Regions from separate parts of the Homo sapiens genome. Here region 1 is linked to region 2. The links are contacts of gene promoters, found by promoter capture Hi-C in human tissues and cell types (Jung and others, 2019). All regions are on one chromosome and are shown on one strand. Each heading gives the region's core, a stretch centred on a gene start or on the middle of the fragment in contact. The rest is flanking DNA. Distances are from core to core; before and after follow the strand shown. Region 1 overlaps ZC3H14 (zinc finger CCCH-type containing 14). Region 2 holds the start of EML5 (EMAP like 5).

The links. Contacts are between HindIII fragments. The study calls those that stand out against the background at their distance.
Region 1: a contact is called between a fragment that was not itself captured here and the fragment with the promoter of EML5 in region 2, in 1 of the 25 tissues and cell types used here (IMR-90 fibroblasts).

What each region holds. Positions count from the first base shown.
Region 1 is chr14:88,592,430-88,598,603 of GRCh38, reverse strand. ZC3H14 (zinc finger CCCH-type containing 14) reads right to left here. Exons shown (of 17, transcript NM_024824.5): 10 at 1,796-1,870. Among named protein-coding and RNA genes, the nearest start is that of ZC3H14, 32 kb to the right of the region's middle. The HindIII fragment of the contact is 3,300 bases long and covers 450-3,749 here.
Region 2 is chr14:88,790,272-88,796,500 of GRCh38, reverse strand. It overlaps EML5 (EMAP like 5), which reads left to right and starts at 3,548. Exons shown (of 44, transcript NM_183387.3): 1 at 3,548-4,194. The coding sequence starts at 3,998. RefSeq lists silencers at 3,408-3,767, 3,958-4,037. The HindIII fragment of the contact is 27,448 bases long and covers 1-6,229 here.

The DNA.
Region 1 (6,174 bases), core at 850-3,349, 200 kb after region 2:
CTGATAAATCTTTACCCACTGCATGCATTCTCCCTTGGAGAAAGTGGAGCTTTAGACTCTTCAGAGGATAAGAACAGAGTCCCTGGACCAAGAGACACCAGCCATGATGAAAGAAGTACTGGACTGACAATGGTTGGGGGAGGGTTAAATAAACATTACATAATAATTAATGGTGAGGTGCCTCCCCCAGCCTTCTTTCCCCACTTAAGCTCGCAGAACTCTGACTACCAGGCTATTACTTGAAAAACTTTGTTTTGGAGAAGCTGACCAGCCTGAGAGGAAAGTCTTGAAGGCAGTGACATCAGGGTGCCCACAAACCAGACAGGCAGGACAAATCACTTTCCACCACAGGGTCTAGTTTCAAACAGAAAGTCAAAGTGCCCCATGCCCCAACTCATGAACCCAGAATACCAGTGACCTTCTGAGTGCTCCACTCTTAAATGTAAGACCACCTAGGATCCCCAGACATCAGAGGGGAACCTCCAGCATAAAAGACAGCCAAAACAGACCACTTAGAGAAAACAAGACGAAGCAGGGAGGGGAAAAATGTCAAAACCACCTTTCAGACCACAGAGAAATAACAAAGAGTATTGTGTACACAAAATCAGTATGTTTTTAGAAAATTAATAGAATATGCAGAAACAAAGGGATCTTAGAATAAAAAATGTGATAGGAGCTAAGGACTGCAGTCATTCATAAGCCTCACAGAACTACTTGCTATTTCAAACTGCGTGCACCATGGGTACAATGAAAAGCTGAAGGAGGCAGAAGAGAAAACATGCACAAGAGCTGATGAAGTGGATCCCACACACAGATCTCGGCTGTCAACCTTTTCAAATACTCCTGTGGAGGAAGCAGGACGGACTGCTGGGAGATGAGAGAGCAAAATCACGGGCAGAGAATGTCTGAACACCTCTACAGAGAGAAGACAGGAGGCAGAGAATGAAGTTGGAGGAGTGGGTGACATGCCAGTGGCTCACCAACCCAGTGGGATCTGGCCTCTGGTGGAGGCTGACCCTTAGGGAGGAAAAGCACACTTTCTGAGCTGGAAAGCTGGGGGAGGGTCGGGGAACAGAGTGACTGACTGTGGAGTCCTGACTGAGAGGGGTCTAGGGACCAGAGCTTCCCACAAAAGACAGACTTAGGGGAAACAGAAGGACTGAGATGATTCCGGGTCTCTCATGGTTGCCTGTGTTTATCCTGCAGTCATTTTTAAGACATTGAACATGCATCTGGCAGGGGCTGGGCACTGAGGACAGAGATAATAAAAATGAAGGCGTCAGCTCCAGTCCTGGAGTAGCCCCTGGCATGTGTGTCTGTGGGGAGAGGAAAGGAGACAGGCAAACTAGAGTGGCTCTAGAACACTAGAACAACAAGTTCCAGGTGTGGCCCTGGTGATAAGACTCCAAAATGAAGTACAAGAGGATAAGGCTAACCAGGTGAAAAACAGGATACAAAAGCCACTCATGGCAATGACAAAAGCTGGGTAGAGTGGGAGGGTAAATCAGAAACGCAGGTCACTCCTGACAGCAGGAGAGTGACAGCCGACAGTGCTAGGGACACACTTGGAATGGTGTGAAAGGAACAAAGTTTTCCAATGAGGCAAAAAATTATAACACTATATAACATGAAAGAAATGCAGATCTTATCTCCTGGCCCTAAAATATTTTCACAGATCTAAATATAACATCTTAGGGCAGGATCTAAGAGATCCGAGATACGTTAAATGGGGTGTAAGAAATGGAAATGGCAACTGAAATGGCTGGATTACAGTACAACTTGAAACATTACCAACCTTGACTCATCTGCAGAGTTTCTGCCATTACTGGGTCGATTTGCAGTCGGGATAATAATTGCCTCTGTTGAGTTCCTAGAATATAAATTTTAAAACTTCACTAAGCTTACAACACAGACAATACCAGCATGTGGTTCCCAAAAATCAATCCTTCTGGGTTCTTAACTTGAAGTCTTAAAAGTAACTTAAAGCTTCAACAATTCAATTTAATAGTATTTATAGACCAAAGACATATCCTGTAAGACAAAAAAGGCTGTACTCAGGGTTAAACCACAAATGCCAATTTAAAACACTCCTGGTTCTCCCTCTATGAGGACATCAGTTTTCCTGAATTTGAATTCTGCGGGGAAAGTAAAGGTGGCAAACGGGTGGAAAATCCAGGAAAAGGCACCTTGTGGCCCAGCAGCTCGCATCACAGCCAACTGCACAATAAGCATGGCAAGCACCTCCCTCCATCACCTGAGCTCTTACCATCACGACTCACTCATGACCTTTGAAGATAATCGAAATAGCAAAACAAAACACTCTCATCATCTAAACAAGAGTTCCTAAAAGACAAACTCTGGGCTTCGATGCATGCAAAGAAAACAATAAGACACTCAGCTCTACAATCCACACCCTATGTTAGCAAAGCATGATAATAATTCTTTGCCTCTTCCACAAGAAAAGATGTTCAACTACTTATTTCTTCTAAAATAGGCTCCTAACATTAATTCCTATTAGGTTCACTATTCCTAACAATAATATGCCCAGCAGTCTGACTGCACAAAATAGGGACAAAGAACTGATTTTTTTCCATCCTCGATTTGATGTTAAGCTCCTTGAGGATGGGAGAATGTCACACTTTTCTGTAGCCCCCACAGCGCTTAGCAGACATCAGGCACTCACTTGCTCATTATAAGGTACTGCACTACAGTGTACAAAGGGATGTAACTGATAGGGTTGCAAATACTGAAATCTTACTAAGATGCCCACATGCTGATTTTGGGTATATCCATTACAGGTGGCTTCACAAGGACAGGCTTTGCTTACTCAGTGCAAAGATGTTAAGTGGGCCATCTCCCACCAAGCACCACATTTCATTAAAAGGTGTTTTTAAATTTTAAAACCTATACTCGATTTGAAATTGTATCAGTTAGTTTCCTTTAAAACATAAGTTATATGAAATTTTACTGGTGCGTCCCAAAAAAGTCAATTCCTTCCAGAATTATTACCATAAAAAAACACACATTCTGAGGAACTGTAACGAAGATGACACTTAGGTCAAGTTGCATTCCTGTGGGAAGCTTGGAAAACTGAGGTGAAAAGTTACAGGAAGAATGCTCTTTCCATCCAAATACTGCAACAGGTCTCCTTCACATCAACAGTACATGATGAAAGAATGAGACATTTTAAAATAATTTCACAAGACACATGAAAGACCACACTTCCACATTTCAAGTTTTGCTTCATTGCTCTAGGTTCATCTGTCTTTTCAAAACATCGTTTTAGAGAGCTCCATTAAAGAGGATGGAATTCTGATCAATTCTAGATTGCTAAGCTAAATCAAGCAGAATCCAAATTTGTCATTAAAGGTCCATGAAAAATTCAAGTTCTCTGTAACTTGCTCCCTCCACATCAGAGCTACAGTCAACATACGTGGAAAGATACAGATCAAAGGATGGGTACCTAGAACATATCATATATTAAGAGTTTACCTTTCTCAACGTTTCTAAGGAAGCCGATTATTTTTACATCAGTAGTTCTTGACTGTGATTCAGTATCTTCTTCTTGATCTTCAAACTGTCTGTTGCATTCATATGTTGTTGAATATTCATTCATTTTAACCTCCAAAGATGAAATTTTTGCTTCATTCTTGGACACTCTAACATTTAGATCAAAAAGATTTGCTTCCACTGTCAAAATAGCTGCTTTCATTCCTTTAATTTCATTGATATCAGCTGATATTTTCCTTAAAAGGTGGGAAATATTGTCTAGCTCATTCAGTGAACAAGAGGAGCTTGTTATGGAACCTAAGTCCACTGGCTCCGGTGGAAGAAAAATTGGTAGAGGTGGTGATGGAAACTTTGAAGACATTCTCATAAAGGTGACAGGAACCTCAAAGACATTTTCATAAAATTCTCTCCCTTAAAATCTGATAATTTTTTCTTCACAGCTCATTAAGTTATTTCATCGAAAGTAAAAGCAGTGATCAAGGCTGTTACCTTAAGACGTATTAAGAGCAAATAACATCTTAAAACCTGTAATTCAAAAGATGGGGTTGTACATTTCTAGAGTCAGAATTCAAAACTAAATGTGAAAAAGCTAAACGTACCAGACCAATTGCTCTTCGCTACAACTAAGAAGCCCTAATACGTAGGGCCCTACATCCTCTAAGTACCATCTGTATAGCTCCTCTTCCAGTAAACCCTATTATTACATACAAAATAATCCTGGTTTCTGATTGGCTGAAAACAGACATGTGTCACACAAAGAATTTTCTATTATTTACTTCATATGATGAGAGCACTGAAGCGCTACTTTATAGGTTAAGCAATATAACATTAAGTGCTTTACATCTAAATATGATATGAATTAAATGTACTTTTCCCTTTTCATCATCTAAACCATAACATTTTTAAGCTTCAGATTTCTGATTTGTTTTGAGTTGTATTTCCCCTTGAAATTAGTATATAACATTATTGAGAGTGACAAATCCTCTGGAGGGAAAGGGCGGAGAAAGTAACTGGACCCGTGATCCACACAAACTTCTTTCAAGATACATGTGGTAATGACAGAATTCAACTTCACTAATATAGTATCGTGTAAACTTAAGGATGGGGAAATAAGAACTCAGCCTTGGCTTAATACTAGACCATTATTAGACAGGTGTTTCTTAAATATTCTCTCCCATTTTGTTGTCTTTTTTTTTTTTGATAGTATCTTTTGAAACACAAAAATACTAAATTTTGATGAAGTCCGAGTTATCTTTTTTCCTTTGGTTGCTTGTGCTTTTGGTGTCATATTTAAGAAATCATTCTGGAATCCAAGACATATCTATTTTTTTCCCTAAGAGTTTTGAAGTTTAGGTTTTTGATCCATTTTGAGTTATTTTTGTTTATGACATAAGATAAGGTTCCAACTTCATTCTTTTCATGTGGATATTCAGTTGTCCCAGCATCACCTGTGGAAAAACCTATTCTTTTGCCAATAAACTGTCTTAACACCGCTGCCAAAAATTGATGGGTTGTGAAAGTATGCATTTATTTCTGGATTCTCAATTCCGGTCCACGGGTCTGTATGGTCATCCTTATGCCAGTACCACACAGTCTTCATTACTCTAGCTTTGTAGTAAGTTTTGAAATCAAGCAACATAACCTTGCCAACGTTACTCTTTTTCAATAGTTTTGGCTATTCTCAGTCCCTTTTTATTTCCATATGAATTTTAGGATCAGCCTGCCGATTTCTACAAAAAAAAGCAATTTGGGGTTTAAACAGGGATTGAGTTGAATCCATAGATCAACTTGGGGACTACTGCCATCTTAAGAATAGTAAAGACATCTAGGCTGGGCGTGGTGACTCATGCCTGTAATCCCAGCATTTTGGGAGGCCAAGGTGGGTGGATTATGAGGTCAGGAGTTCGAGACCAGCCTGACCAATGTGGCGAAATCCCGTCTCTGCTAAAAATACAAAAATCAGCCAGGTGTGGTGGCGCACGCCTGTTATCCCAGCTACTCAGGAGGCTGAGGCAGGAGAATCGCTTGAACCCGGGAGGCAGAGACTGAATAAGCAGAGATCGTGCCACTGCACTCCAGCCTAGGCGACAGAGGGAGACTCCATCTCAAAAAAAAAAAAAAAGAATAGTAAAGACTTCCAATCCATTAACACAGAAAATCTTGTAAGGTCCTTAATTTGACAAAGGACGTTTTTACTTTGGTTTACTCCCCAAGCAAACAAATAAGATATGCAACATACAAGGATGCAAGTTGGTAGATGCTGCTCACTATAGTCTCTTAAAAGAAGAATCCTGGCCTGGCACAGAGGCCCACACCTGTCATTCCAGCACTTTGGGAGGCCAAGGCAGGTGGATCACTTGAGGTCAGGAGTTCAAGACCAGCCTGGCCAACATGGCAAAACCCTGTCTCCACTAAAAATACAAAAATTAGCCAGGCGTGGTGGCATATGCCTGTAATTCCAGCTACTCGGGAGGCTGAGGCATGAGAATCACCTGAACCTGGGAAGGCAGAGGCTGCGGTGAGTGAGACTGCGCCACTGCACTGCAGCCTGGGTGACAGAGTGAGAATCTGTCTCAAAAAAAAAAAAAAAAAAAAAAAAAAAGGAATCCTTATAAAGAATGGTAGTCTTTGGTTTCCCAAATAGATGTCACAGTAACAGAATAA
Region 2 (6,229 bases), core at 2,299-4,798:
ATATAACATATAATATATATAATATATATAATATATAAACATAATATATATATAAAATATATATAATATATATAACATATAATATATATATAAAATATATAACATATAATATATATATAATATATATAACATATAATATATATATAAAATATATAACATATAATATATATATAATATATATAACATATAATATATATATAATATATATAACATATAATATATATATAATATATATAACATATAATATATATATAATATATATAATATATATAACATATAATATATATATAATATATATAATATATATAACATATAATATATATATAATATATATATACTTTTTTTTTTTTTGAGACAGAGTTTCACTCTTTGTTTCCCAGGCTGGAGTGCGGTGGTGCGATCTCAGCTCACTGCAACCTCCACTTCCCGGATTCAAGCGATTCTCCTGTCTCAGCCTCCCGAGTAGCTGGGATTACAGGCGCCCGCCACCATGCCTGGCAAATTTTTGTGTTTTTACTAGACATGGAGTTTCACCATGTTGGCCAGGCTGGTCTCAAACTCCTGACCACCCACCTTGGCCTCCCAAAGTGCCGGGATTAGAGGTGAGAGCCACCATGCTAGCTAGAAGTAATTGCATGAATTTTTTTTTTTTTTTTCTGAGATGGTGGCCTGCACCACCACACCCGGCTACTTTTTTTTGTATTTTTAGTAGAGATGGGGTTTTGCCATATTGGCCAGGCTGGGGAATTTTGGTTTTTATGTTTTCTACATTTTGCCTTAGATTTCTTTATAAACCTAAGGGTACCTAATCAGTAGCCAGCACATGATTTATTTGCCTGAATTTTAGAAATATTTCAAATATCTCAAATTCCATACTAGGAACTCAAGTTTCAGGAACTAGATTACCAAAGGGGGTGATATGGTTTGGCTGTATCCCACCCAAATATCACCTTGAATTGTAATAATCCCCACATGTCAAGGGTGGTGCCAGGTGGGGATAATTGAATCGTGGGGGTGGTTTCCCCCATACTGTTCTAGTGGTAGTGAATAAGTCTCATGAGATCTGATGGTTTTATAAATGGAGCTCCCCTGCGCAAATTCTTCTTGTCTGCTGCCATGTGCGACTTTGCTCCTCTTTGCCTTCCACCATGATTGTGAGGCCTCCTTAGCAATGCGGAACTGTGAGTCAATTAAACCTCTTTTCTTTATAAATTACCCAGTCTCAGGTATGTCTTTATTAGCAGCATGAGAACGGACGAATACAGGGGGTATTGCAGCCTTCGTCTGGAATGCTTAACAAATGTCCATTTGTTGATGTGTATAATTTTTTGTTTCTTTCTCCCACATCCTTATTTGCATTACTTTCACAGGATACAGATGATGGAATATCACCTAGCAATAGAAGCTTCATTAAGCTTTCTGATGTGACATTGGTAATACTGGATTATATAAAGTTGTGAGGGTAAGAACTGATCAGGTTTGTTTTTTTCTTCCTCTAGTATTCATGAATGGTTCATTTTCTAGCCACCTTTGTGCCTCGGCTGTCTCTTTTGGTCTTGAGTCGCCAGTTGAGGATGGTTTAATTAAGAATGTTTTTGCTTCGCACTCTACACTTGGGTCATTAAAATCGTAATGGAAAATATGATAATGGGAAAATAAATTACTTAAATCTCTTATTAATCTGAGTACTTAAGTGTGTATCATGGGATCCATAAGATATTGTGCTGAAAAATCCGAAACATAGAAAAAACTATATTCTTCCATCTCGTCTCATAAAATTTACATGTAACCAGTAATTAATATATCACAAATGTATAGCAACAAATATTTAATGTTTTCTAAGTTCACTGCTTGAATTTAAATAATCAACAATTTTTCTTTTTCTCACCAGGGGATTTCAAGGAACTCACTAGTGAATTAGAACATATTCTTATTAAAAAACAGAAAACGCCCTCCTGGTGACAAAGAGAAACTGTGTGTGCTTTTGCCCAGGGTACCCTACATGGGCCTTAGAGCCACTTCTCAGGCCTGATTTCTTTGTTTATTTGCAGCAGCTGCCAGAAAGCTATTCCTCTTTTTCAGATTCTGCCCAGAATGGAAACTCTTTCAGAGTTTACTTTTCATGACATCTATGTAAATTCCTTTCAGATGGCCTTTATTTCCTGCATGTAAACTGCTTGCAGATTAGAAGTCATAATCAAAGACGAAACGGTAATCCTGTCTCAAGTTAGTAACTGGCATCTTTGAGGAAGTAGACATTGGATAACATCTATTCCAATATATCTGTACCACACAGGAGTCAACCCCTTTTGGAGTCATATTTCTTGAAACGATGGTAGTTTATTTTAGCTTTTGTCAGATTTCTGTCTTGGTATTTCCTATGGAAATCAAACAGTAATTTTTAGACAATAAGGGTTCATATTGGTATATCCTGAATTAGTATTTTTTTGTTGTAAATCTTGTGGCCATCCTGAACTTAACACTTTTTAAATTGTGGATTTCCAATTATTTTTAGAGGTATTGATAAATCTTGTTCATATTCCTGTGAGAAGAGGACACAACTGAGTAGGAGGGGAAATGACATAGTCAGGAATTGATTGTTCCCAATACTTTTATTACAGGAGTTTTCTACAGGATCACAATTGAATTTATTTAATTAAGAGTAACTGTTGGTGATGTCCCAGTCATTTTTAAAAAAATCGAAGTACAATTTTTTTTTTTTTTGCTATTCGGAAATCAGATCTCACATGTCAGTTTACCATCTAAAGTCTACCTTCAGCTTTGCGGTCACTTAAGAAAACATACACTTAGGACCAGGAGCAGTGGATTGGGCCTGTAATCCCAGCGCTTTGGGAGGCCTGAGGCAGAAGAACTGCTGAAGGTCAGGAGGTGGAGACCAGCCTGGGCAACACAGCAAGACCCCCGCCTCTACAAAATAAACTTAAAAACAAAGCAAAACATTTGCCGGGCATAGTGGTACGCAACTGTACTCCTTACTACTCCGGAGACTGAGGCGGGAGGATCGCTGGAGCCCAGGAGTTGGAGGCTACAGTGAGCTGAGACTGCGCCACTCCACTCCAGCCTGGGCGACAGAGCGAGGCTCTGTTTCTAAAAATAATAATTTAAAAGCACATTTAGGAAGCTCGGCATCATTCCAATGTCTGGGTCCGAAAGCACTATAAGGCAGCAAGACACACAAGGTATCAAGCGTAAAAAAGAGAATTTAGCATCCCGGTGTGGATTTTCCCAGGCAAAAACGTGGCCTACGCTGGGTGCAGGGACCGTGCGGAACCGGCAGGTGCTTCCCGGTTGAGGACGCAAAGCAGCGGGAGCCCGGGGTCGCCGAGGGTCCGCCTGGGCTTAAGCAGCTCAACGAGGGAGGGCTCACCGGCCCGCGCACTTGCAGAGACGCGGTCCCAGCGACTCCGCAACTAGACCGTGGCCCCGCGAACTCCAGCCTCTTCTCGGCTCCGGGAGGGGCGGAGTGAGCGCGGGAGGGGGCGGGGCCACGCAAGGCCGCGCGCCCGCCGCTCGGCTCGGCTCGGCTCGGCTCGCTCGGTTTCGGGGTGCGCGGCGCGGGTCCGCCAGGCTGTGGCTACAAAGCCGCGGCGGGGCGCGAGCGCCGCAGGTGACCGGGGCTGGGAGCTGCGTGCGCGGGCGGCGGCTGAGGAGCTGGAGGCGGGCCCTCGCTCTCGGCCCAGGCGCTACGGGCTGAGGAGACTAGGCGAGCCGAGGCGGGCGAAGGGCTCTGGGCATCCACTTGACAGCCGGCGGCGCTCGCGGCCCTCAGCATGTTCCGCGAGGCGAGGGTTTTCCTCCCGCCTGTGGGCTGAGGCGGCGGCGGCCCCCGAAACGAGATGCACCTGACGGGCGCGGCTTAGAGGACGCGGCTGGCGGGAAGTCCCGGCAGCCAGCGGGAGGGCTTTCGTTGCCGGGCCGCCGCCGCCTCCCGTCGCCGCCGCGGGCCCGAGCGGGAGCGGCGGGTGGGCGCCCCGACATGGCGGCCCGGAGCGCCCCGAGCTGCCACCTGCGGCTCGAGTGGGTGTACGGCTACCGGGGCCACCAGTGCCGCAACAACCTCTACTACACTGCGGCCAAGGAGATCGTATACTTCGTGGCGGGGGTCGGCGTGGTGTACAGCCCGCGGGAGCACAGGCAGAAGTTCTACCGGGGCCACAGCGACGACATCATCAGGTACCGGGGAGCGGGGGCCGCCGCCGTCACCCTGCAAGCCGCTCCCGGAGTTTGCACCCGCGGGTTCCTCTGGACGCCGTGACCGCTCCTGCACGGAGCATCACCCCGAGGGGAATCCGCAGCTGTCTCTCTGGTCCCGAGTCCACCAGTTAACACCCTACAAATGCCTTTCCCCTCTTCCTCGTCTAGGGACTCTCTCTCGGGTCCGTGCAGGAAGATCAGGTCCGCGGATCCACCGGGCACCCGGTTTGACGGCTTTGTCCCCTTTCCCACTCCATCACAATTACGAAAACTGCGAAAAGGTTATTTTGGTGGCACTTTATTCCGTTAGATCCTGTGAGAAATTTCTTATTAAACGCATTCTTAAAGCACCCGGGGTGGGGGGAAACCCTTTACCTAATAAAGGACTGATGGAAGCACAGCAAGCGGTGGGCTGCTCCCGGGGAGCGCGCCCAGGGTGGCGTCCTGAAGGGCTCTCACCTCCTGGCCGTAATTATTAGTTCAGGTTTCACCGCCTGCTATAATCAGCAGAAACCCCAGGCAACCTCCAGGCAATTCACTGGATGTTAAAATGTGCACACCTGAAGGCAATTTAAGGTAGGTCTTATCTGAAGAGGCTGCTGAAAACTTCACTGATTTCCAGTTCTCTTCATCTTCATTAAAATACTCCTAAATAAGCTACTTTTGTATTTTCTTAAAATTAAATCGCTATTGGGGGGCTATTTTTAGTCTTCCTTGGACAATAACTCAAAGTTGGTCCCAGAGCTTGTTGACATTTCTTTAGTGAGCGGTATATTTGAAATGTAATTTTCAATCAGTGTCTTAGTACAACTTTTATGGTAAAGTCAAGAGCTTCAGAAATCATTCTAGGCCACTGATTATTGCCTCAAGCACAGCATTTTTTGTCCTTTACAGAGGAAAATATATTAAAAGCAATTGAGAATGTGTTTGTGTGGTGCTCTTGGGGTTTTATCAAAGATTCTACGATTTGGGTTTGGTTACAAAATGTTATTCCCTCATGTATGTTGCACAGGATTTAAATTGGGCATTTCAAATACGGTACCTTGGTTTGAAGTCTTGTAGGCAAGAAGCCCTGGTATGTAAATTCCACAAATAAAGTTGTTCTTCTGTTTTGCGTCTCTGTACATCTATAATATGTAAGAGGGAAAGGATGCCTAGGACAAACAGAGGTAGGGCAAGATGGAGTAAAGATAAGAAAAGACAAAATTGAGATTGCAGAGTAAGGAATGAGGTGGTGCTCTGTATTCAGTTGGTTTTTTTTGTTTGTTTTTGTTTTTTGGACACCAGAGTGCTTTTTCAGATTGTATTTAATGTATTACTTTGAAAAGGTAACTGATAAGTCATTTCATTTTTCTCAAGCTGGGACTCTGTATCGTGGTGATTAGGGTTACAGACCTATTATAATAGCCCAAATTGCTGATGGAAAAACAAAACTAAAGTAAACCCGTAGTAATTATTTATCTTCTTAGTTATCCCAAGAGTAGAGTTTACCCCAGTGTCTTGTCTTTTTCCCTAATCCTTTCAAGTCTCCCTTCTTTTCCATATGCTAGGTCTCCCAAAGTACCAGGCATAGTAGCTTTACCTAGCTGGAGCAGCCTTAACTGAAGCCCTGCTCCAGATAATTTAGTCTGTTAGGTTGAATTCAGCTGGTGGAGTAAATGTGAAGGATTTTGAGGTCTTCTCGTGGTACACTTGTATTGTTTTTACTCCTTGGGGGTTATGAGAGCAGTATAGCACTAAGGTCTTCTGAAACTAGATATGATTTATTTGGTGAGGTAAATTACATCTTGTTCTTCTAGCAGTAATTAGAAGCTGTGTTATATGTCACACCGCTTAAATTTCATAATTGTGTTTCAGTAAACTGTAAGGAAGGTAATGCTTTGACTTTCTTTTGGTATAGTTGCACAACTTATACAAAACAACAAACATACTCGAATTTCTCATCGTTGAATATACATGCTTATGATTTTATCCAAATGACACATCTTTAATGTATAACAATGAAAATAAGTTT